Linked DNA regions of Homo sapiens: all the other regions are linked to region 1. Evidence: promoter capture Hi-C in 16 types of primary human blood cells and fetal thymus (Javierre and others, 2016). All regions are on one chromosome and are shown on one strand. Each heading gives the region's core, a stretch centred on a gene start or on the middle of the fragment in contact. The rest is flanking DNA. Distances are from core to core; before and after follow the strand shown.

Evidence for each region. Contacts are between HindIII fragments. The CHiCAGO score rates a contact against its expected background, and 5 or more counts as called.
Region 2: a fragment that was not itself captured here is called in contact with the fragment with the promoter of UBE2E1 in region 1 in 2 of 17 cell types (M2 macrophages and M1 macrophages); the score reaches 6.5 in M2 macrophages.
Region 3: a contact is called between a fragment that was not itself captured here and the fragment with the promoter of UBE2E1 in region 1, in 1 of 17 cell types (fetal thymus). The highest score is 7.0, in fetal thymus.
Region 4: a contact is called between a fragment that was not itself captured here and the fragment with the promoter of UBE2E1 in region 1, in 6 of 17 cell types (naive B cells, M2 macrophages, monocytes and 3 more). The highest score is 9.0, in naive B cells.
Region 5: a contact is called between a fragment that was not itself captured here and the fragment with the promoter of UBE2E1 in region 1, in 1 of 17 cell types (M1 macrophages). The highest score is 6.5, in M1 macrophages.
Region 6: a fragment that was not itself captured here is called in contact with the fragment with the promoter of UBE2E1 in region 1 in 1 of 17 cell types (M2 macrophages); the score reaches 6.3 in M2 macrophages.

Annotation. Positions count from the first base shown.
Region 1 is chr3:23,804,205-23,807,947 of GRCh38, forward strand. It overlaps UBE2E1 (ubiquitin conjugating enzyme E2 E1), which reads left to right and starts at 1,751. Exons shown (of 6, transcript NM_003341.5): 1 at 1,751-1,884; 2 at 3,033-3,217. The coding sequence starts at 3,066. UBE2E1-AS1 (UBE2E1 antisense RNA 1) reads right to left here and starts at 2,701. Exons shown (of 2, transcript NR_046652.1): 1 at 2,615-2,701; 2 at 1-510. RefSeq lists silencers at 1,687-1,796, 1,877-2,006, 2,197-2,496, 2,697-2,876 and an enhancer at 3,177-3,266. The HindIII fragment of the contact is 12,732 bases long and covers 1-3,743 here.
Region 2 is chr3:23,063,701-23,067,963 of GRCh38, forward strand. No RefSeq gene overlaps it. Among named protein-coding and RNA genes, the nearest start is that of UBE2E2-DT, 140 kb to the right of the region's middle. The HindIII fragment of the contact is 2,934 bases long and covers 1,501-4,263 here.
Region 3 is chr3:23,033,396-23,037,609 of GRCh38, forward strand. No RefSeq gene overlaps it. Among named protein-coding and RNA genes, the nearest start is that of UBE2E2-DT, 170 kb to the right of the region's middle. RefSeq lists an enhancer at 2,256-2,756. The HindIII fragment of the contact is 301 bases long and covers 2,399-2,699 here.
Region 4 is chr3:23,219,602-23,223,497 of GRCh38, forward strand. All of the region lies in intron 3 of UBE2E2 (ubiquitin conjugating enzyme E2 E2), which reads left to right. Among named protein-coding and RNA genes, the nearest start is that of UBE2E2, 18 kb to the left of the region's middle. The HindIII fragment of the contact is 3,655 bases long and covers 410-3,896 here.
Region 5 is chr3:23,154,100-23,157,903 of GRCh38, forward strand. No RefSeq gene overlaps it. Among named protein-coding and RNA genes, the nearest start is that of UBE2E2-DT, 47 kb to the right of the region's middle. The HindIII fragment of the contact is 2,033 bases long and covers 1,396-3,428 here.
Region 6 is chr3:22,961,783-22,965,635 of GRCh38, forward strand. No RefSeq gene overlaps it. Among named protein-coding and RNA genes, the nearest start is that of UBE2E2-DT, 240 kb to the right of the region's middle. RefSeq lists a silencer at 997-1,207. The HindIII fragment of the contact is 3,830 bases long and covers 1-3,270 here.

The sequences.
Region 1 (3,743 bases), core at 501-3,000:
ATCCTGAGTTTATTTCATCTTCTTATTGTTTTCTTCTGAATTTACATCTTTTCATCAGAACAAAAAGAATACAATCAGTTTTTCAGAAGTTTAAAAAATTTTTTCAAATATATAGCAAAGAATGTCATCATTTTTATATACTCTACCAGGACTCCTGAAACCAAACACTTAAGAAAGGTTATGTCTGGAAATTTTTTCAAAATCTATATGCATTTCAGTGGTGGAGAAATAGTTCTGTCTGGAAGCAGGAGGCTGAAATTATGACCCTGAAGATTTCTTCCAGCTTTTGAACTTCTTATTCTATGACAACTCCTGGTAGATACAGGTTTCCTGGTAGGGATTGAGCAAGAAGCATGCACAATTACTTTATGAGTCTTGATAAAGCTGGAATTTCAGGTTGATGGTTAGAAGGAGTTCGGCTGGGTCGTGAGAATGCTTGTTTTCCTGGTTACTGGATATGCCATGGGCTGTATATCTTGTGTTGTCCTGTGGTAACTGAAGCCACTGTTGCTGTGGAAAATGATGGCAGTTTGAATGAGATAATTTAGAGTGACCTATGGAAATCTGAGGCTGTCTCCTTAATGTACAAGACCTTGTATGTGTGGCACTGTTGTATTTGAATGGCACACATCTCTTTAGTTCCCTTCAACTGAAATGACAAAAGGTGAGAAACTGAATCGTAATTTGATGGCTTAATATTAAAAAAAAATTGGCAAAAATGCTAAATAAGGAACAATTCAGAAGAATTGCTGATCATTTCAAAAATATTATTTGCATAGCATTTATAGGTAGCTAAAGAAAGAGAAAAATGGCTTAATATTTTAAAAATAATTTGGTCAATTTAGCGATCTGGGGATTCTGCGATCCCCAGAACTTTGCATCCAATTTCCAAAAACCAAACCTTACATCTAATGTAAAATGACACAAAAAATTCTAAATCCAGTCTAATTCAGTAGTATATAGCTTATTCCCAGTGATGTCTCACATTCGCAAGCCCGTTACACGTTGGTTTTACCTGTCACCAAAACCTTTGTATCACTCTTATAAAAAACCACATCACTTTCTATAAAAAGTGAGTGGAAGAATCTAATATTGTAAAACTGCACGTGCCTCGCGTGACCTGAGCAGAAAATTCCTAGTTTGGGATTTTCTCACAGGCATACCTAAACTGACCTCTGCTCCTAGCAGGTAAATTGCTAGAAGGAGAAGCAAGTGTCAGTCCAAAGAAAACCCTTGTTGTGTGATTTTTTTTTTCTCTTTAATCGCTTTTTAGGTGGAGTACCCGCTGCATTCTCTAAAGTCTTTGCCACCACCAGATTACCAACGTTTTCACCAATTTGCCACCTCCCTACTCCTCTCCTTTCCAAAAGCCCTCATTGGAAAGAACTTTCTCTCGTGACCCCCCTATTCCATCTAGTTCCAATCACTCCCAGCGCCCCCCATCTCCATCGGCTTCCCCTCTCCCGCCCAGAATCCAGGTTCCCAAACCACTTAAGAGAAAATTCACAACCCTCGCCCCCTTCCCGGGCGTCCGGAGGAGGCGCTGGGGTGGGGGTGTCTGTGGGGGACAGGGTTTCCTGGGGTCTCCTGGGTCTTCCTCGCGCACCCCCAGGAGGTGTTGCAGGGGGAGGGGAGCGCGGGTGGGTGGGACCGGGCCGGGTGGGGGAGGGGTGAGGGCGAGGAGGAGGAGGAGGAGGAGGCGGCGGCGGAGGAGTGGTGTGTGTGCGAGCGTGTGTGGCTGGGGGAAGCCATTGCCTGTTTAATAGTTGCTGTTGCTGCACTTCCGCTTCTCTCCCAGCGAGAGAGAGACACGAGTGGCCAGGCCCAGCCGCAGCCGCAGCAGCAGCCGCCGCGGCGGCACGGAGGAGCCAGACACAAAGAGAGGTACGGGGATCCCCCCAGCGGCCCGCCGCCCCCCGGCCGCGCCGCCGGGCCTCGGGGACACCCCTCGCCGCCTCCCCCGACTCGCGCCGCCGGGGCCGCCGGGCCGCAGGGCACGGGGCCGGCGCGGGGGGGGAGCGGAGAGGGGCTGGGGAGCCCCAGGGGTCCGGGGCCCGCCCGCGGGGGATGGGCAGGGACCCCGGGCCGCGTGGGGTGCGGGGGCCGCCCGCATTGAGGACGGGGGTCATTGTGGCTCGAACTGTCAGCGCTGCCCCAAGAGCCCCCCACTGGCCACCGAGGGGCCCGGGAGCGGGGGTGGGAGGGAGTTGGGGGAGCCCCGTTTTCCCCAGGGGCGGGGGTTCGCGGGGATTAACCCCTCCGGGGCGGAAGGGCTCATTGTTATGTCTTCGCTGCGGAGGCCGACCCCCCCATTCCCCGCCGCAGCCCCTATCCCCCTACAGGAGTGGCGATCGGGCGTGTGCTCCGGACCCCCGCCCGGCCGCATAGCTGTGAGCAGGGCGGCCAGAGGCAGGCAGGCCGGGAGGGGCGTCGGGGCGCGGCGCGGGGGGGCCTCGGGCCTCGTCGCCCCTGCCCCCCGCCGGCCTCTCCCTTCCCCCACCCGGGCACCCGCTCCCCGCCTCCGTCCCCCTGTTTCGGCTTCCTCTCTTACTCCTTCCCGCCCCTCCTCTCTTCCCGACCTCGCCAAACTCCGCTCGTGGCCCCACAGTCTCACCCGGGCCACCGGCCCCTCACGACCCCCGGAAAGCGGACAAAAACAGCCCCGAGGCCGGCCGGCCGCCGGGACCTTCCCTCCCTGCCCCGCCGTGGCGCCCCGCGCCCCCCGCCCTGCCCTCCTTCGCCTCCCGGGCTACTCCCTCCCTGCCCAGCGGAGAGCCCCGGGGGGCGAGGGAGGGGCCTCTCTCCTAGCTCCAGACCGTTTTCCCACAGCGTTCCCCACTTGGGGCCAAAAATAAACAAGCCGCGTCCGATTTGCAAAAGCCTTAATGGGCCTGCAGACTTTGAAAAGCGAGTGGAGGGCGGTGGGCGGCCGCGTGCGCCCCTGGTCAATGCCCTCCTGACAGCACCCGAGTTCCTTATTTACACTGGCTGCATGGTTTGTGTGTTTCTGTTTTGTTTCTCTCCCCCTGCAGGGGCTGTTTGCGGGGTGGGGTGGGGGGTTCGCTATGTCGGATGACGATTCGAGGGCCAGCACCAGCTCCTCCTCATCTTCGTCTTCCAACCAGCAAACCGAGAAAGAAACAAACACCCCCAAGAAGAAGGAGAGTAAAGTCAGCATGAGCAAAAACTCCAAACTCCTCTCCACCAGCGCCAAGAGGTACTGTGCTCTTTTTTTTTTCCACAGGCTTCCTATTTCCGAACTGCCTCTTGCTGCATTTGGTCTGCCTCCCAATGAGGATAGCTTAAACGCTCCTCATGGTTTATGTGTTCTTAAAAATGAAAGAAGGGCCTTGGAAGCCCTAATTATTTTCTCTATTGCTGCTTCTGTTTTTAAATCATTGCTCACATGCAGCTGTTGCGGCTTGCCTCTCGCATTTCTTGCTGAAGTTTGTAAGATTCCTCGTTACTTTTATTAGTGACCCCCAAATCTGATTTCAGATTTCTTGTCCTACTAATGGTTAATCTGTGACCTTCCCCAAGGCCATGATCCCATTTCTTAATTACTAATACCAGCCCAGAGAACTGCATCAAAATGAATTCTGTGACCATTTTACCTTCTCCTCACCTGTTGCATGGATGATCTTTTCTAAATAGAGCTTTCTTCACAAATTGCATAAGGAATAAGAAACTCATATTAGCAGGTACAAAATTTAGTAGGTGAAGACAGATGTTTTCTGGTGGAA
Region 2 (4,263 bases), core at 1,718-4,217, 740 kb before region 1:
ATGTGCCATGATGGTGTGCTGCACCCATTAACTCGTCATTCAGCATTAGGTATATCTCCTAATGCTATCCCTCCCCGCTCCCCCAACCCCACAACAGTCCCCGGTGTGTGATGTTCCCCTTCCTGTGTCCATGTGTTCTCATTGTTCAGTTCCCACCTATGAGTGAGAACATGTGGTGTTTGGTTTTTTGTCCTTGCGATAGTTTGCTGAGAATGATAGTTTCCAGCTTTGTCCATGTCCCTACAAAGGACATGAACTCATTAAAGACACATGCACACGTATGTTTATTGCGGCACTATTCACAATAGCAAAGACTTGGAACCAACCCAAATGTCCAACAATGAAGTAGCATTTCTGTTATAAGCAAAGGGACCAGCCAAGGCTAGCCTGTCTCCAGGCAGTTGTAGGGTCTCTATCTTAATCCTTGATGTGTTTGTCCCAGCCTTACAATGGTTTCTGCTGTGGTTGCTGTGATGGTTAATATTAAGGGTCAACTTCATTAGATTGAAGGATGCAAAGTATTGTTCCTGGGTGTGTCTGTGAGGATGTTGCCAAAGGAGATTAACATTTGAATCAGTGGACTGGAAGAGGTAGACCCACCTTCAATGTGGGCGGGCACCATCTAATCAAGTGCCAGCGCAGCTAGAAAAAAGCTGACAGAAGGAGGTGGGAAAGTCGACTTGCTGAGACTTCCGGCCTTTATCTTTCTTTCATGCTGGATGCTTCCTGCCCTCGAACATGAGACTCCAAGTTCTTCAACTTCTGGACTCTTGGACTTACACCAGTGGTTTACCAGGGCTCTCAGGCCTTCGGCCACAGACTGAAGGCTGCACTGTCGACTTCCCTACTTTTGATGTTTTGGGACTTGGACTGGCTTCCTTTCTCCTCAGCTTGCAGATGGCCTATTGTGGGACCTCACCTTGTGATTGTGTGAGTCAATACTCCTTAATAAACTCCCCTTCATACATACATCTATCCTATTAGTTCTGTCTCTAGAGAACCCTGACCAATACAGTTGCTAATTAGCAGACTGAGACTAGCACTCTGCCTTGATTCATACTCTGTGAATCCCACACTCCACCCCAAAGAAGTTGGGAAACTGACAGGGCCATTTTTTGTTGTCACAATGAATTGGGTGTGATATTTAGTGGTCAGGAGTCACAGATGCTAATTGTCCTGACATCCATGGGATAGTCCCGCACATAAAGAATGCATACATTCCATTAAAATGTCAAGTATTCCACTGGACATTCTGTTAGGTGAAAAATGTGTGTATAAATCTGAGCCTAGAGGTTAACTTCATTTCACACATGAACACAAAGTATTTTTGTAGGAATGCAACTACTGTGCAAATCAAGGGAAAAATAGACTTTGTTTTGATCACAATTTTACTAAGAATTGTTCGCGAATTGCCTAAAAAAAAATCACATGAATAATGGCAACAACACTTCTGGTAATTCAATTGCCAATTCAGCACACCTGTGTCCAGTTCTATTCATAAGCTTTCTCTTTCTCAGTGCAATGCTCTGATTTCTTCATTATGTCCTCTAGGACCAGGCTACTCACAAAGTGTATTCCACGTGCCAACAGCATCAGCATCACCTGGAAGTTTGTGAGAAATGTGAAATCTCAAGGCCCATCCCACACCCACTGAACCAGAATATGCTTTTTAACAGGATCTCTGGATATCTGTATGCACAGTCAAGTTTGAGAAGCACTGTTCCAGTGTATTTCTGTACAAGCATTATATATTAAAAATAAATAGTATTATTTACTTTTACTTCTCTGTTTTATAATTAGAGCATACTGATTTTTTAAATTATGTTTGTAGGTAGATTATCAATAAATGTTAAGTGTAACAAAATATTTGTTTGAAATGGAGGAAATTGGGTGGGAGAGGGTTGAGAATCACCTAGTTGGGACCTGTCCATCTGCCCAGTTATTGATTATCTACTTTCTTGAGCCCACCACCAGCTGAAGACTTGGAGCCACCCCAATTATGGTATCACCATTGATTGAAACTCCTGCTGCTGCCACTCACTAATCAGATGGATCCCCTTCAATAAACACATCAATCCCAGTCAGGAGCAAATCCCAAGACTCAGTGGGATAGAAACTATCTTTTCACTGACAAGCCATCCTCTTTCTCTTAAAGACCAGACTCATAGCCAAGTTATTCCTGCCATGCTACAAAATTTTCTCCCATACCCATGTACGTTTTCCAACTCCTAATATTCTCTGCAAGTGATCCCACCAGTCATGAAGAAGTTACAGATATAGTCTATTTGCATTCAAACTTGAGGATTCTATGTGAAATTTTCTGAGCTTCTGGAATGTTGTATACACCCACATCCAACTTAACACAAAAGTACTTTTTTTTTTTTGAGATGGAGTATCACTCTGTCACCCAGGCTGGAGTGCAGTGGCGCGATCTCAGCTCACTGCAAGCTCCACCTCCCAGGTTTGTGCCATTCTCCTGCCTCAGCCTCCCGAGTAGCTGGGACTACAGATGCCCATCACCACGCTTGGTTAATTTTTTTTTATTTTTAGTAGAGACGGGGTTTCACCGTGTTAGCCAGCAAAAATACATTTTTTTAAGCAAAATATGAATGATTTGGTGGGGGTGAGAGGAATTGGCACTAATAATGTATTATATGTTATTATTCCTCATTATGGCATAAGCACTCAAAGAATTGTTTATTTCAATTATAAAAGCTGATTGGTACAATCTTAGTTTGAATTACGCCACTGCAAAGAGAATTAGGAACTTAATTATCCAAGTTTCCACTTCACAAATTATCTAGGAAAATCTAATCATTTCTAAATACAGCAAAATTGGATATACATATGATGCATGAAGGAATTATAACTTGCACAAAAGTTTCAGGGGCTCCCATGATGTTAAGATATTTTTAATACTCATCGTATTATTGGGCTTTTTCACGTAGTTCCCATCAATCAAAAGAGAAGTACACAATTTATCAGTATATTTCCTGGTTAGGGGCTTGGTATAAATCATTTACACAGTCACGTTACACAAACTTTTCTTCATTATATACTAGAAATAATTTTTTATTTCAACCATCCTACCCTGAATCACCACCTCCCAACTTGTAGTTTAATAACATGACTTGTTCCATGACACAGCCTATAGACCTTTGAGATAGTACAGACATGAAGCAGGAAGGAGTAGTTTAAAAAGTCAGAAAACTGGTACTTAACCCTTGTGCCAGTTATCAGCTATGTGATTTCAGTCATTATATCAAACTCTGAGAATCAGTTTTCACATCTACAAAAGAAGAGAGTGGACCAAATGCTCTATAGCATTCTTTCCATCTTTAAAATTTTGTGATTATATTCACAGACCAAACACAAGCATGTTCTATAAACTGTAAAACAACTTTATAACATTTTCAATTCAACCTTGATATTAGATCACTTGGTTTTATAAAGGATTATAACTGTTATTGGTTATTGATATGGTTTGGATTTGTGTCTCCATCCAAATCTCATGTCAAAGTGTAATCTCCAGTGTTAGAGGAGGGGCCTGGTAGAATGTGACTGGATCATGGGAACTGACTTCCCCCTTCCTGTTCTCATGATAGTGAGTGAGTTCCCATGGGATCTGGTTATTAAAAATGTGTAGGACCTCCCCCTTCTCTCTTCCTCTTGCTCTGGCCATGTGAGACATGACTCTTTCCTCTTTGCCTTCCACCATGATTGTAAGTTTCCTGAGGCCTCCTCAGCCATGCTTCCTGTATAGCCTGCAGAAACATAAGCCAACTAAACCTCTTTTCTTTATAAATTATACAGTCTCAGATAGTTCTTTATAGCAATATGAGAATGAACCAATACAATTACGTATGTTCATGAAAGGAAGCAATGTCATGCTTAATTTTAAAAACCACATATAATTAATTTCTGTAAGTAATATTTTAACTTTTTTACTCTCCTGACTAAAATCTGTTAGCATTTCTGGCAAACTGGAATTCAGGGAGGCAGAAGTTGAGTTACAAACCCCAGGGCAAAGGAAGGATGCAGAAAGGCAGGGCACTGAAATTGTTAGAGATAAAGCGGGAAAAGCAGTTAATGTAATGGAACTGAACTCAGGTCTGCCCACTCAGCATGGTAATACCAAATATCCACACTGAGGTTTTATAGCAGGAGAAACAAGGGCATTCATTTGCAGGACACCAAGCAAGGAGAATCCGACAGCTCACACTTAAGACCCAACCTCCTGGATGGCTTACAATCAAGGGTTTT
Region 3 (4,214 bases), core at 1,299-3,798, 770 kb before region 1:
TGTCTCTACCTCTTTCAGTTCTGCTCTTACTTATTTCTTGTCTTCTGTTGGCTTTTGAATTTGTTTGCTGTTGCTTCTCTAGTTCTTTTAATTGTGATGTTAGGGTGTTGATTTTAGATCTCTCCTGCTTTCTCTTGTGGGCGTTTAGTGCTATAACTTTCCCTCTACACACAGCTTTAAATGTGTCCCAGAGATTCTGGTAGGTTGTGTCTTTCTTCTCATTGGTTTCAAAGAACATCTTTATTTCTGCCTTTATTTTGTTATTTACCCAGCAGTCACTCAAGGGCAGGTTGTTCAGTTTCCATGTAGTTGTGCAGTTTTGAGTGAGTTTCTTAATCCTGAGTTCTGATTTGATTGCACTGTGGTCTGAGAGACAGTTTGTTGTGATTTCTGTTTTTTACATTTGCTGAGGAGTGCTTTACTTCCAACTATATGGTCAGTTTTGGAAGCTGGGTGATGTGGTGCTGAGAAGAATGTATATTCTGTTGATTTGGGGTGGAGAGCTCTGTAGATGTCTATTAGGTCTGCTTGGTGCAGAGCTGAGTTCAAGTCCTGGATATCCTTGTTAAACTTCTGTCTCGTTGATCTGTCTAATATTGACAGCGGGGTGTTAAAGTCTCCCATGATTATAGTGTGAGAGTCTAAGTCTCTTTGTGGGTCTCTAAGGACTTGCTTTATGAATCTGGGTGCTCCTGCCTTGGGTGTATATACATTTAGGACAGTTAGCTCTTCTTGTTGAATTGATCCCTTTACCATTATGTAATGGCCTTCTTTGTCTCTTTTGATGTTTGTTGGTTTAAAGTCTGTTTTATCAGAGACTAGGATTGCAACTCCTGCCCTTTTTTGTTTTCCATTTGCTTGGTAGATCTTCCTCCATCCCTTTACTTTGAGCCTATGTGCGTCTTTGCATGTGAGATGGGTTTCCTGAATACAGCACACTGATGGGTCTTGACTCTTTATACAATTTGCCAGTCTGTGTCTTTTAATTGGAGCATTTAGTCCATTTACATTTAAGGTTAATATTGTTATGTGTGAATTTGATCCTGTCATTATGATGTTAGCTGGTTATTTTGCTCGTTAGTTGATGCAGTTTCTTCCTAGCATTGATGGTCTTTACAATTTGGCATGTTTTTGCAGTGGCTGCTACTGGTTGTTTCTTTCCATATTTAGTGCTTCTTTCAGGAGCTCTTGTAAGGCAAGCCTGGTGGTGACAAAATCTCTCAGCATTTGCTTGTCTGTAAAGGATTTTATTTCTCCTTCACTTATGAAGCTTAGTTTGGCTGGATATGAAATTCTGGGTTGAAAATTCTTTTCTTTAAGAATGTTGAATATTGGCCCCCACTCTCTTCTGGCTTGGTTTCTGCAGACAGATTCACTTTTAGTCTGATGGGTTTCCTTTTGTGGGTAACCCAACCTTTCTCTCTGGCTGCCCTTAAAATTTTTTCCTTCATTTCAACCTTGGTGAATCTGACAATTATATGTCTTGGGGTTGCTCTTCTCGAGGAGTATCTTTGTGGTGTTCTCTGTATTTCCTGAATTCGAATGTTGGCCTGCCTTGCTAGGTTGGGGGAGTTCTCCTGGATAATATCCTGAAGAGTGTTTTCTAACTTGGTTCCATTCACCCCATCATTTTCAGATACATCAATCAAACGTAGATTTGGTCTTTTCCCATAGTCCCATATTTCTTGGAGGCTTTGTTCATTTCTTTTTACTCTTTTTTCTCTAACCTTGTTTTCTCGCTTCATTTCATTAATTTGATTTTCGATCACGATACCCTTTCTTCCACTTGATCAAATCGGCTATTGAAGCTTGTGCATGCCTCACAAAGTTCTCATGCCATGGTTTTCAGCTCCATCAGGTCACTGAAGGTCTTCTCTACACTGTTTATTCTAGTTAGCCATTCATCTAACCTTTTTTCAAGGTTTTTAGCTTCCTAGTGATGGGTTTGAACATGCTCCTTTAGCTTGGAGAAGTCTGTTATTACCCACCTTCTGAAGCCTACTTCTGTCAACCCGTCAAAATCATTCTCCATCCAGCTTTGTTCCATTGCTGGTGAGGAGCTGCGATCCTTTGCAGGAGAAGAGGCACTCTGGTTTTTAGAATTTTCAGCTTTTCTGCTCTGGTTTCTCTCCATCTTTGTGGTTTTATCTACCTTTGGTCTTTGATGTTGGTGACCTACAGATGGGGTTTTGGTGTAGATGTCCTTTTTGTTGATGTTGGTGCTATTCCTTTCTGTTTGTTAGTTTTCCTTCTAACAGTCAGGTCCCTCAGCTGCAGGTCTGTTGGAGTTTGCTGGAGGTCCACTCCAGACCCTGTTTGCCTGGATATCACCAGCAGAAGCTGCAGAACAGCCAATATTGCAGAAGGGCAAATATTGCTGCCTGATCCTTCCTCTGGAAGCTTCATCCCAGAAGGGCTCCTGCCTATATGAGTTGTCTGTCGGCCCCTACTGGGAGCTGTCTCCCAGTTAGGCTACACGGGGGTCAGGGACCCACTTGAGGAGGCAGTCTGTCCATTCTCATTCTCAGAGCTCAACCACTGCTCTGGGAGAACAACTGCTCTCTTCAAGCTGTCAGACAGGGACGTTTAAGTCTGCAGAAGCTGTCTGCTGCCTTTTGTTCAAATATGACCTGCCCACAGAGGTGGAGTCTATAGAGGCAGTAAGCTGTGCTGAGCTGTGGTGGGCTCCACCCAGTTCAAGCTTCCTGGCCTCTTTGTTTACCTATTCAAGCCTCAGCAATGGTGGACGCCCCTCCCCCATCCAGGCTGCCACCTCGAAGTTTGATCTCAGACTGCTGCAATAGCAGTGAGCAAGGCTCCATGGGCGTGGGACCTGCCAAGCCAGGCATAAGGGAGAATCTCCTTGTCTGCCAGTTGCTAAGACCTTGGGAAAAGTGCATTATTCAGGCAGGAGTGTCCCGTTTTTCCAGGTACAGCCTGTCCTGGCTTCCCTTGGCTAGGAAAGGGAAATCCCCCAACCCCTTGCACTTCCTGGGTGAGACGACACCCCACCCTGCTTCGGCTCATGCTCCATGGGCTGTACACACTGTCCAAACTGGTTGGACCCATCTTCTGCATCAATCACGCTGGGAGCTGCAGACTGGAGCTGTTCCTATTCGGCCATCTTGGAATGGATCCCTTCCCTCTACTATATTAATCATTAAATTTTCTTCTTCACATTTTAACACTTCCATGGAATTTTTTTTTAATTTTCATAGAGTACTCTTCCCCTTGTCTGACTTCTCTCAAGAATACTAAGGTGAAGTCTATATTTATAAGAATTATGCCCAGTATTTCTACCATACTATTTTTTTCTAAATACAGTATTTTTTTTATTTTGTGCTATATCAATGGATTAATTACGACTTAAGTCACTATCTCTAAGTCCCAGATGAGTTATTCATTAATTTCCTTAAATACCCAACGAAACTCTTTGACATCTCTCTGATCTAGACTCTCCCTTAATGACTCTGTTCTCCACTTCTTACTTACTTTCCGTTTTTCTTATGTCACTTCTATAATTAGAAAGAACACTGGGGCTACAAAATGTGGTCTTTAAACACCCAAAGGGCAAAAGCAAACATTCCATGAGAGTCAAAGAGAAACTGAAGCACCAAAAAAAGAACGATGACTTAGCCAAATTAACTCCCCCAGGAAATTATTTAAACTATTATGAAAGTGTTTTATAGTATGATAAGAGTAAAAAGCAAAAATGAAAAGACAGATATTCTGCTGCAAATTTTCTCTTGTAGTTAGGTAGATACATAAATATAGACAACTAGATGATAATTATCATATCAAGAAATGCTATTATACCCAAGCACATGGAGAAATTCCTGCCAATTTGGAATGTGAAACAAATTTAGTACAATAGAGCAATGTGCATATTGTCCTGCTGGAAAACTATTTGTTTAAACTAGGAAGTGGTAAATGACATCACATACACAAGGTTGATGGGTAAAATCACTTGCTGTGGAACCATGAAGATGGTAAATCCAGCACCACCCAAAAGGTGGATGCAAGGACTGCTCCTTGCACAGAAATCCTCCATCCACTAAGAAATGCCTTGCTTTTCATTTTTTCTCTCAAAGGAAACTTTCTCTTTTCTTTAATATCTCCATTTAGGCCAAAATATAAAATGTATCTACTTTCTTGCTTTTTTCAGCTATTCCTCGCTCATTAAGTTTCCTACTAAACATGTTATTGATTTTTAA
Region 4 (3,896 bases), core at 987-3,486, 580 kb before region 1:
AATTAAAGTTATCTGCCTAATAGAAGTCAGAGTCCTTTACTTAATCAGTTAAGTCATATCTCATTTCAGAAGAAAGCATCCCCTTACTCTGCTCCCTTTGTGGATTACCTCTCCTATCACACATGCCTCTCAAAACCCTGCCTTTTGGTTCCCTGGGTAGTTGTTAGTCTGCTATCACATGTAAAGATTATATGTGAGGGAACATCTGTGGGTTTTACCTGTTTAGTCAGAGAGTGGAGAACGATTTTTTCTACTGGTTGTCTGGGTAGGGGTGGGTGTGTGTCACATTCCACTTTGAGTGTGGTTTATCCTATTTTCGGGAACCTTAACAGACAACCCAATACTGTGTGTTTGTCAGGTTAGATGGAACCTCTGAATTTTGGTGCATCTCTTAGGTGATATCTAGTTAAGCTTCTTTTGGAATCATATTGAAGGAACTGTATGTGTTTAAGCGTTGTGCAAATCTGTTATTTAAAGAAGTTGAGACTATCAAGTCACCCCGAATCACAGCATTCAGTGTAGATAAAGTTTTATGTAAGGCATTTTTAGAGGAAGTTATTCTAATATAGTATTGGTTAATTTTTTTTCAGGTTTTGAATAAACAAATATTATTTTAAAGAACACCTACAAATGATTTAATAGATTGAATTATTTCATGTAGGAGATATTTGCCTCTACATATTTCAGTTTTTTCTCACTTTATTGTTGTCTTTGAAGTAAAAATGCAGTAAGATAGTTTTATTTTTGAAGTTGGGTTAAATATGTCATCCTTTTTAAAAACATTACTCACAGTTTAATGGGTAAATATTTTAAAACAAAACTTTATAGCTAAGAAAAAATTTCTGCTCATAAAATCGTAGCGTCTGTAGGGCCATAGGCATAGAAAATTACACTTCATTTGAGTGAAATTTGGTATATGCTTAGAGTATTTCCTATAAGTAGTGGAATATATTTTTCTTGGCCTTAACTGTCATGTTGGCTAACATAACTGACCCATGACATTTGCAAGGGTTCTATCCTGAGGCCTTCACAGATCCACTGATCAATAAATGTTTTCATACTACTGCTGAGTTAGAGGTGCTGGGCAGTTGGTTAGAATTGCTCGTTACCTTGGTGCCTTGCACACCAGCTTAGATGGATAGAGTGGGTCAAATTGATGCTTTATCCTTACAGACCTCTAACAGGTAGATTCACTGCCCCTTATAAATGACTACAGGTTGTAACTTTCACAGTTCTTCACAAATTGTTAAAAGCAAGATCTTAGATCTGTGCATGTCAGTGTGTTCATTTATACTTCCTCGGTGCTAGTGGAGAACTGGCAGCTAGTGGGCCAGCAAATCTCCAGATAAAAATTAAAATTAAAATCGTCATCATCCAAAGGATAACTTGCTCCTCTGTATCACAGAGAAGCTAACTTGTTCAAATGCTATTATGATCTGCTACTGCTAAAGTTTGTATTAGGTTTACGAGCAGGGGAATGACAGAGAATCCTTATTACTTTTTGGAAGAAAAGACTAAGGTAAAATGATTTATTTGGATTTTGATTTTTGGTCTAGTAATTGAACAAGTAAAAGGAGGAAGTAAACCAAAAAAGAGGATGTAGTTATACTAGCAGTTTACACTTCTATTTCTATGTGTTTCAAGAATCTGCTCATGGAACACTGGCGCTGCTTTTTAATTTTGTCTTTTATTTGATAACAGCTTTATTGAGATATAAAGTGTAAAATTCACTTATACTTTTAGGTTTTTAGTATAGTCTCGGAGTTTTGTAATCATCACAGTCTGTTTTGCAATATTTTGATACCTCCCAAAAAATAATCCATGCCTTTTAGCAGTCACTCCTTCCCCATTTTCCCCCAGCTCTTTCACCACCAGCCCTCGGCAGCAATTAGTCTACTTTCTGTTTCTATAGATTTGCCTTATCTGGACATTTTGTATAAATGAAATCTTGTGTGCTTTTTGTGTCTGGCTTTTAAAATTTTTTTTACAAAGTGTAATATTTTCAAGGTTCATCCATGTTGCTGCATGCGTTAGTACTTCTTTTTTTTTTCTGAGACGGAGTTTCGCTCTTGTCGCCCAAACTAGAGTGCAATGGCGTGATCTTGGCTCCCTGCAAGCTCCACCTCCTGGATTCAAGCGATTCTCCTGGGTCAGCTTCCCGAGTAGCTGGAATTACAGGCGTGCGCCACCATGCCTGGCTAATTTTTGTATTTTTAGTAGAGACGGGGTTTCACCGTGTTGGCCAGGCTGGTCTTGAACTTGATTACCCAAGTATTTCTTTTTTAAAAATATTTTTAATTGAGGTAAAATATACATACATGATTTACCATCTTTACCATTTTTAGTGTAAAGTTCAGTGAATATACATTTATATATTTATATTCTTTTTTTCCTCTTGATCCCCCCACTCCCCTTCCTGGCCTCTGGTAACTACCAGTCTACTCTCTATTTTTGAGATCTACATTTTTAGCTCTCATGTAAGAGTGAGAACATGTGACATTTGTCATTCTCTGCTGGGCTTATTTCACTTAACCTTGCCTGTGGTTCCATCCATGTTGCTGCACATGACAGGATTTCATTCTTTTTTATGGTTGAATTAAATATTCCATTGTGTGTATATACCACATTTTCTTTATTCATTCATTTGTTAATGGGCACTCAGGTTGGTTCCATATTTTAGCTATTGTGAATGGTACTTGGGTAAACATGGAGGTGCAGATATCTCTTTGATACATTAATCTCCTTTCTTTTTGATATATACTGATATGCTTTGGCAATGTCCCCACCCAAATCTCATCTTGAATTGTAGCTCCCATAATTCCCACGTGTTGTGGGAGGGACTGGCGGGAGATAATTGAATCATGGGGGTGGTATCCCCCATACTGTTCTTGTGGTAATGAATAAGTCTCACGAGATCTGATGGTTTTATAAGGGGAAACCCCTTTTACTTGGCTCTCATTCTTCTCTTGTCTGCCACCATGTGATGCGTACCTTTCACCTTCACCATAATTGTGAGGCCTCTCAAGCCAGGTGGAACCATGAGTCCATTAAACGTCTTTTTGTAAATTGCCCAGTCTCAGGTATGTCTTTATGGGCAGCGTGAAAATGGACTAATATATAAATATATATACCCAGTATAGGAATTGCTGGATCATATGGAAGTTCTGTTTTTAGTTTTGTAAGTAACCTTTGTACTGTTCTCCATAGTGGCTGTACTAATTTACATCCCAACAACAGTGTACGAGCCTTCCCCTTTCTCCGCATCCTTGCCAGCATCCGCTATTGCCGTCTGTTTGATCTAAGCCTTTTTAACCTCAGTGAGATATTGCATTGTAGCAATGTTGAGCATTTTTTAATGTACCCTTTGGCCATTTGCATGTCTTCTTTTGAGAAATGTCTGTTTACATCTTTTGCCCCCCCCCCCTTTTTTTTTTTTTTTGAGTTGTCTCTCTCTGTCACTCAGGCTGGAGTGCAGTGGCGTGATCTCTGCTCACTGTAACCTCTGCCTCCTGGGTTCAAGTGATTCTCCTGCTTCAGCCTCCTGAGTAGCTGAGACTACAGGTACATGCCACCATGCTCAGCTGATTTTTGTATTTTTTTTTTTTTTTTGAGATGGAGACTCACTGTGTCACCCAGGCTGGAGTGCAGTGGCATGATCTTGGCTCACTGCAACCACTGCCTCCCAGGTTCAAGTGATTCTTCTGCCTCAGCCTCCTGAATAACTGGGATTAGAGGCATGCACCACCACACTTGGCTAATTTTTGTATTTTGAGTAGAGATGGGGTTTTACCGTGTTGGCCGGGCTGGTCTCAAACTCCTGACCTCAAGTGATCCTCCTGCCTTGGCCTCCCAAAGTGCTAGTATTACAGGCGTGAGCTGCGCTTGGCCCTTTTGCC
Region 5 (3,804 bases), core at 1,162-3,661, 650 kb before region 1:
ATATGTTATATATATGATTATATATGATATATATATATATATATATATATATATGCCTCACAACCTAATCTTCCTTTATGAGGCCCCACTTCCCAAAACTGCTGCATTGAAGATTACATATCCAACACATGAACTTTGGAGAACATATTCAAACAATACATCAGCTATATTTTCTTTCAATGAGGTGAGGTTGTTTTGACCTGATTGATTCCAATGATTGGCTTGCACAGAACAACTTCAGGCCTTGTTGTTCAGTTTTTATATTGTTTCATTTTAAAGGAAATAAATTTGTTATAGATTTGAGATATTGCTACTTTAAAAGCTTCCTGGCCAGGTGCAGGGGTTCACACCTATAATCCCAGCACTTTGTCAGGCCACGGCAGACAGATCACTTGAGCCCAGGAGTTTGAGACCAGCCTGGGCAACATGATGAAATCCTGTCTCTACAAAGAATACAAAAATTAGCCAGGTGTGGTGGTGCACACCTGTAGTCCCAGCTACTCAGGAGGCTGAAGTGGAGGATTGTTTGAGCCCAGGAGGTGGAGACTGCAGTGAGCTATGACCATATTACTGCACTCCACCCTGGGCAACAGAGTGAGACTCTGTCTCAAAAAAAAAAAAAAAAAAAAAAAGGTAGCATTTCTATATATAAACAACAGACTATCTGAAAAGGAAATCAAGATGGCAATTTCATTTATAAGTTACCTAGGAATACATTTAACCAAGGAGGTAAAAACCTCTACAAGGGAAACTACAAAATACTGATGAAAGAAACTGAAGAGGCTAAAAGTCAAATGGAAAGACATCATATGCTCATGAATTGGAAGAATAAATATTGTTAAAATGGCAATACTACACAAAGCAATTGAATGTAATTCCTATCAAAATACCAATGACATCTTCACAGAAACAGAAAAAAATGCTAAAATTTATGTCAACCCACAAAAGACCCAGAATAGCCAAAGTAATCCAAAAAAATAAAGCCGGCAGTGTCACACTACCAGACTTCAAAGTATACTACAAAGCTGTAGTAACCAAAACAGCATGGTACTGGCATAAAACAAGACACATAGACTAATGGGACAGAATAGAGAACGCAGAAATTAATCCAAGTATCTACAGCCAACTGATTTTTTTACAAAGGTGAAATGGTGCTTGGAAAATTGGATATCTGTATGCAGAAGAATGAAACTAGACCTGCCCTTCCTCTATATAAAAACCGACTCAAAATGGATCAACCACCTAAGGATAAGACCCAAAATGATAAAACTACTAGAAGAAAACATAGAAGAAATGTTTTAAGACCTTGGTCTGGGAAAAGATTTTATGAATAAGACCTCAAAAGCATAGGCAACAAAAGCAAAAATAAACAAATAGGATTATAGCAAACTAAAAAGCTTCTGCACAGCAAAGACAACCCAGAGAACTGGAGAAAATATTTGCAAACTACTCATCCTATAGGGGATTAATATCCAAAATATATAAGGAACTCAAACATCAACAGCAAAAACAAACAATCCAACTAAAAAAAATGGGCAAATGATCTGAACAGACACTTCTCAGAAGACATACAGATAGTCAACAAATACATGAAAAAATTATCAATATCGTTAATTGTCAGGGAAATCAAAACCACAGTGAGGTATCATCTCACCCCAGTTAGGATGGCTATTTATCAAAAAGACAAAAAATAACTAATGCTGGCAAGGATGCAGAGAAAAGGGAACTCTTACACACTGTCAGTAGGAATGTAAACTACCACAGCCACTATGGAAAACAGTATGGAGGCTCCTCAAAAAACTACAAATAGAGCTACTATATGATTCAGCAATCCGACTACTGGGAATTTATCCAAAGGAAAGGAAACAATTATACCAAAGAAACATCTGTACCCCCATGTTTATTGCAGCACTATTCACAAGATACAGGATCAACCTAGGTGTCCAACAATAGACGAATGGATAAAGAAAATGTAGTATATATACACAGTGGCTATTCCACCATAACAAAGAAGGAAATCCAGTCATTCTCAGCAACTTAGATGGAACAGGAAGATATTATGTTATATGAAATAAACCAGGGACAGAAAGTTAAACCCTGCATGTTCTCATTCACACGTGGACCCTAAAATAAGGTGATCTCATAGAAGTAAAAGAGTAGAACAGAAGATACCAAAGGTTGGAAAGGATGGGGGAAGGAGTGAATAGGGAGAGATTTGTTAAAGGTTATAAAATTACAGCTAGATAGGAGAAATAAGTTCTAGTACTCTATACCACTGTAGGATGACTACAGTTAATAATATTCAGTTTCACACAGCTAGGAGGAACATATTGAATGTTCCCAAAACAAATAAACGATAAACATTGGAGATAATGGACATGCTAATTACCCTGGTCTGATCACTGTATATATATGGAGACATCATTATGTACCCTTTGAATAAGTATAATTATTGTCAATTAAAAATAAAATAATATAAAATCATCCTGTTAATATACCACAGCAAGAAAGTATAATTTACTTATTCATGAATTATCTGCTACTTATACTTCAAACAAATAAGCTAACTGTTTGCTCATTTACCTAATAGGCTGAGTCTAAAGAGCCATTAGTGGCTACTAGTAAATGAAATGAAATAGTTTTTTTTAATGTAATTGCACTCTGCATTTTATATGTAGTGGTTTTATGTAAAAACACCTCTGATTAAGGATTGACTTCAAAGTTAACATTTAATTTCTTGTAATTGCCTGTATAAACAAAAGGAAAATTCATAATTTAAACATTTTCTGCTGTAGACATCAGGTCATGTCCTTGCAGTTGCAATTTATTTGGCTCGATTAGCATGTAATGATTTTGACATTGGCAGGGTGATAAAAGGGAGAATTGAGAGTATGGAGGGAAGAAAATAAATGCAAGGAGGGAGAAAAAAGAGGAAATAAACAACAAAGGAAGGAGAAATAGAACATCATGGGAAAGAAAATAGAATACATGGTAAGAAAGGAGAAATGAGAATGAAGGAGAAAAGGAGAAACAGAAGATTAAAAGTTCTCTCTCGCCTGGAGGGGTGTTGAAAAGACCCTGAGCTGGAACCCTTATTCACACTTTGGTAAAAGGGAGTACCAAGTTCTTAATCGGATATGGAATTTCTTATATTTCACATTGCTCCTCTTTGTTTAACGTCAAGTTATGTAAGATAATTTATGTAAGATAAAACTTGGCTTGCATGAAAGTATTTTTTTTAATACTTGTACAAGATTTAAGCACTTGTTTTAGAGACGGATGTTAACTATAATCGATGGCTCGGTTGAGCAGAGTCTGTGCAACATGCCTGGAATTTGTAAAAATTGCCAACTATTAATAAAGCAGTTTCTTCCAGTTGTAACTGTGTGCCATTCTTTGAAGCATTCCCTGAGGAATATGTTTAAACAAGCTTGGATAGAACTTGTCATGGTATCATATAACTGCTATTGAACTGTTCTGAGCTTTGAACCAGCCATGTATCCTTTGTGTGCAAATGAAAAACAATCTGTCATAAAAGTGCATGAAAGTTGACAAGACTTTCTTTAATAGCTATATTCTAGGAATACATATTTATGAGTGTTTTTAAACACTAGCTTGCTAAATACTTACCACATTCTCAGATTGTTTAAAATATGAACCATTGACCTTAACAATTACTACAACTTACTTTGCAGATAAACTTAAACTTGTGGTTTTCTGACCATCAAGCAGCCTATAATGTTCTACATTAAAGAATGAACCTGTGTCTATATTTGCTTTCAGTATTTTATGATTCAGTGTAGA
Region 6 (3,853 bases), core at 106-2,605, 840 kb before region 1:
AAAAGCATAAATGCCTGCAGTTACTTGCAAACAAGTAACCATAATATTGGGAACATAGAGCATTATTCTATGATGTGTTATTGCTTTATGACGTATAAACCATAGAACATTTCAGTCATAGCCATCTCATCTTTTTGCTGTTACTGTCAAAAGAGGGATAGGTCACTAAAAAATGGAAACCAATTTTGTGGTAGCATTAGTTTGAGTAACAGATTCATAAGATGCAAAAATATTTGCAACAAAAATAGAATAAAACCACAGAAAACAGAAATACTCAAGAGTGATAATGAATATGATATATCTAAAGCACAGGATAACTTAAACATATTAGAAATATGAAATTAATATACAAGTCACTACAGATGACGTGATTTAAAAACATTTTAAATTATCTGAATAGTGATATACAAAAAGATATAAAAATTTAAACCATTTTCAGCAGCACTGAAACTATAGTTTTGCATGGACTGTGTAAACATGATCTCCAACATAGTTCAGGAGATCAGTCAGGATCTTTCTGGTGTAAATGACAGGAATTCAACTCAAACTAGTGCAAGCATTTTTTCATAACTAAAAAATGCAAGGATGAAGAGGGCCACAGGAAATCAATGTTCATTCTCTCTCTCTGTCTCTCTCTCTTTCTCTCTCTCTCTGTCTCTCTCTCTCTCTCTCTCTCTTTCTCTTCCTCTCTCCCTCTCTGTCTGCTCTGCTACTTTCTGAACTGTATCCTCACTCTTTCCTGAATAGACACCTTGTTCTATGTAGCTGGGTTTAGGGTCAGAAGCAAATGGCCTGCTACGCTCTGAATGTCCGTGTCCCCCCAAAATTCCTATGTTAAAATCTAATCCCCAATGCGATGGTGTTAGGAGGTGGAGCCTGTGGAAGGTGATTAGGGATTGGTGTCACCGTGGCAAAGGAGCTCACTACCAGATGCGCTAGAAGTCAATACTCTGACACCGGGTTTTTGAGAAAAGAAAGACTTTTTACTGCAAGTAGACTCCCAAAGAGACAGGAGTCAAGCTCAAATCTGTCTCCCTGGGCTGGGGCTAAGGCAGTTATTTTATTAGAAAAGGTTTAGCGGGTGGATTCCGAGATTAGCAGGTGATTGGTGGAAGGAAAGGGGAGGTCTGGAAAGTCCTCAGGCATGCGTGGTTCTCTCTTCATGCCTCTTTCTTGGGGCCCATGTGCAAATTCGGGGGGAGTTAGTATGAAATGTGGTGGAAATTCAGGCTGTGACATCAGCAAGCTCACTCTGCACAAACTCCAGTCAGCCACATTGCTCCCAACTAATTTCAGCTAGTTTTGTTACCTTTTAAATGGAGGGATTTTCAGAATTTCAGCAAGTTGTTTCTTTTCTTAACTGCTATCCTGCAACTCAATATTTTATGTTAGTCACAGGTTTCTTTAATTCTTCAGGGCATGGTTTCATTAGCGCCCTTACAAAAGAGGCCCCAGAGAGCTGCCTTACCCCTTCTGCTGTGTGAGGACACAGCCAGAAGAAGCCACCCATGAACCAGAAAGTGGTCCCTCACCAGACACGGAATCTTCCAGCACCTTGATCTTAAACTTTCCAGCCTTCAGAACTGTGAGAAATAAATTTCTGCTGTCTATAAGGTGCTCAGTCTATGGTATTTTGTTATAGCAGCCCAAATGGACTAAGACATGGCTACAGACATTCCTATTCCCAGAGGACAAACACCATTTTTCTCTTACGGCACTCCATGTTAAATCTATAGTAAGGATTCCAAGGGGCCCAGTTTGCGGCACATCCTCACATCTCTGGGCCAATTTCCAAAGTCTGAAGAATGGGGTGTTCTAATGGCCATCCTTGGATTCGCTGTAGCTTGGTGGAGGCTGGGAGGCAAAGAACAGGATATTGTGATCTGTGGCCTTCTTATACACAGACTACTCACAGCAAGGTGCTATTGCCCGAAAAGGAGGAGGGTCAGGAAGTATGAGAGGGGATAGCTAAGCAGGAATACACACACACACACACACACACAATCTACTATTTGCTATTAGGTCAATTGATCACCAGCTCTAGAAAAGTGGTTATAGGGTATCAGCCCACTCCCATATGGCTCCACAGTGGGGGAAGGGGAGAAGCAAAGTGAATGAATCACTATGGGAAGGTAGACTTTACTTCAAATACAGAGAGAACTTTCTAACAATTAGAGGACACAAAAGATGCCATAAGCTATACCTCATAATATACTGAGTCTCCCATTTCTGGAGATGTTCAGTTATGAGCTGGAAGACAATTAGGCAGAGATGTTGCAATGGGAATATAAATTTCAGATGGGTGGGAAGTGAATCCAAATTACAATAACCTTGAACATTTATGATTCTGCAAATTATAACATATCGGATGGGATGAGATTTATCCTCAGGGACAGTGTTGGCCATTAGACATTTTGGTTCTTGGGACCTGCCTTCTGATGGAGGTCACCGTCTGGTGGTCCATGGACCACCTAGTATTATTTTAAATATTTTATTTAATTGCCAATACTGCAAACTCTTGGAAAATTCTTTTTTTTTTCTTTTCTTGAGACAGGGTCTTGCTCTCTACTCCGAGGCTGGAGTGCAGTGGCACAATCACAGCTCACTGCAACCTCCTGGACTCAAGCAATCCTCCCACCTAAACCTCCAAATTAGCTGGGACTATAGGAACATGCTGCCGTACCTGGCTAGATTTTTAATTTTTTCTAGAGATAGGGTTTCATTCTGTTGCCCAAGCTGGTCTCAAACTCCTGGGTTCAAGCAATCCTCCCGCCTCAGCCTCCCAAAGTGCTGCGATTACAGATGTGAGTCCCGTGCACCTGACTGAAAATTCTTACAATTTTTTTATTTTACAGCCTCTCTTGAAAATACTTGATCCGTGTTATCAGGAGCAAAGAGTGACTACACTCTTAGCACAGGGTTCATGCTCTCCCAATTTTCAGAGTCAAAGCCAGCCTACCTCATTTATTTACAGTGCCTCTCTCTCTCCTATTTATATTTCAGTTTGCAACCCATGTGTAAACAAAAGTTTTAACGGTACTTTTTACTCTGGTTACCATAGCTTTATCCCCTTTCTTTATCAGACTGATATCCTCTACCCAATCACACATTCACACATTCTTAACCAGTATAGCAACAACTATAATAATAATAATAATAATAATAATAATAAATATTAAAAGGTATTGAGTAACACTTATTTTGTGTTCACGCTGTGCTAGCTAAGCACTGTACTAAAGCAGCTATATTCTGCAACAGTCAGTATAGAAAAGCTTCCACTGCAGGAACAAATAACTGCCAATCTCAATGACTTAATGCAGAAAAGTTCGTTTTGTACACACATTTCACATCCAATGGGAAGCAGCACGGTGTTCTAATCCACTATAGTTGCTCAAGTATCTAAACTGACCAAGGCTCTACCATCTTGTGGTTTCCTTTGATCTTCTCAAAAATTTAGTAGACTTCTTTCTATTCATTTGCCAAAAGTTACATGGACCAATATCTTCACCCATCATTCTTTATGAAGCATGTTATTTAAAAACATTGTTTTCCAACCTTTTCCCCTAGAACTTAAAGTTTATTCAAATATGATCTGCCTCTCAAGTTATAGCACATGACAGTATTACCAAACATTTTGCTGCTACATGACATGGACTGCATTCTTCTGGTCTCTGATATCACTATCCTCATTGTCTTTGGCCCAATCATTAAGCCAATACAAAAATACTTTGGGTTTTTATAATAATAACACTCTACTTCCTGTAAGATCAATTATTATTCACAGTAGCCTAAGCTTGTGCTGCTGTAACTAATCATCCAAATCCTCAGGAGCTTGACACTGTAAAAGTTTATT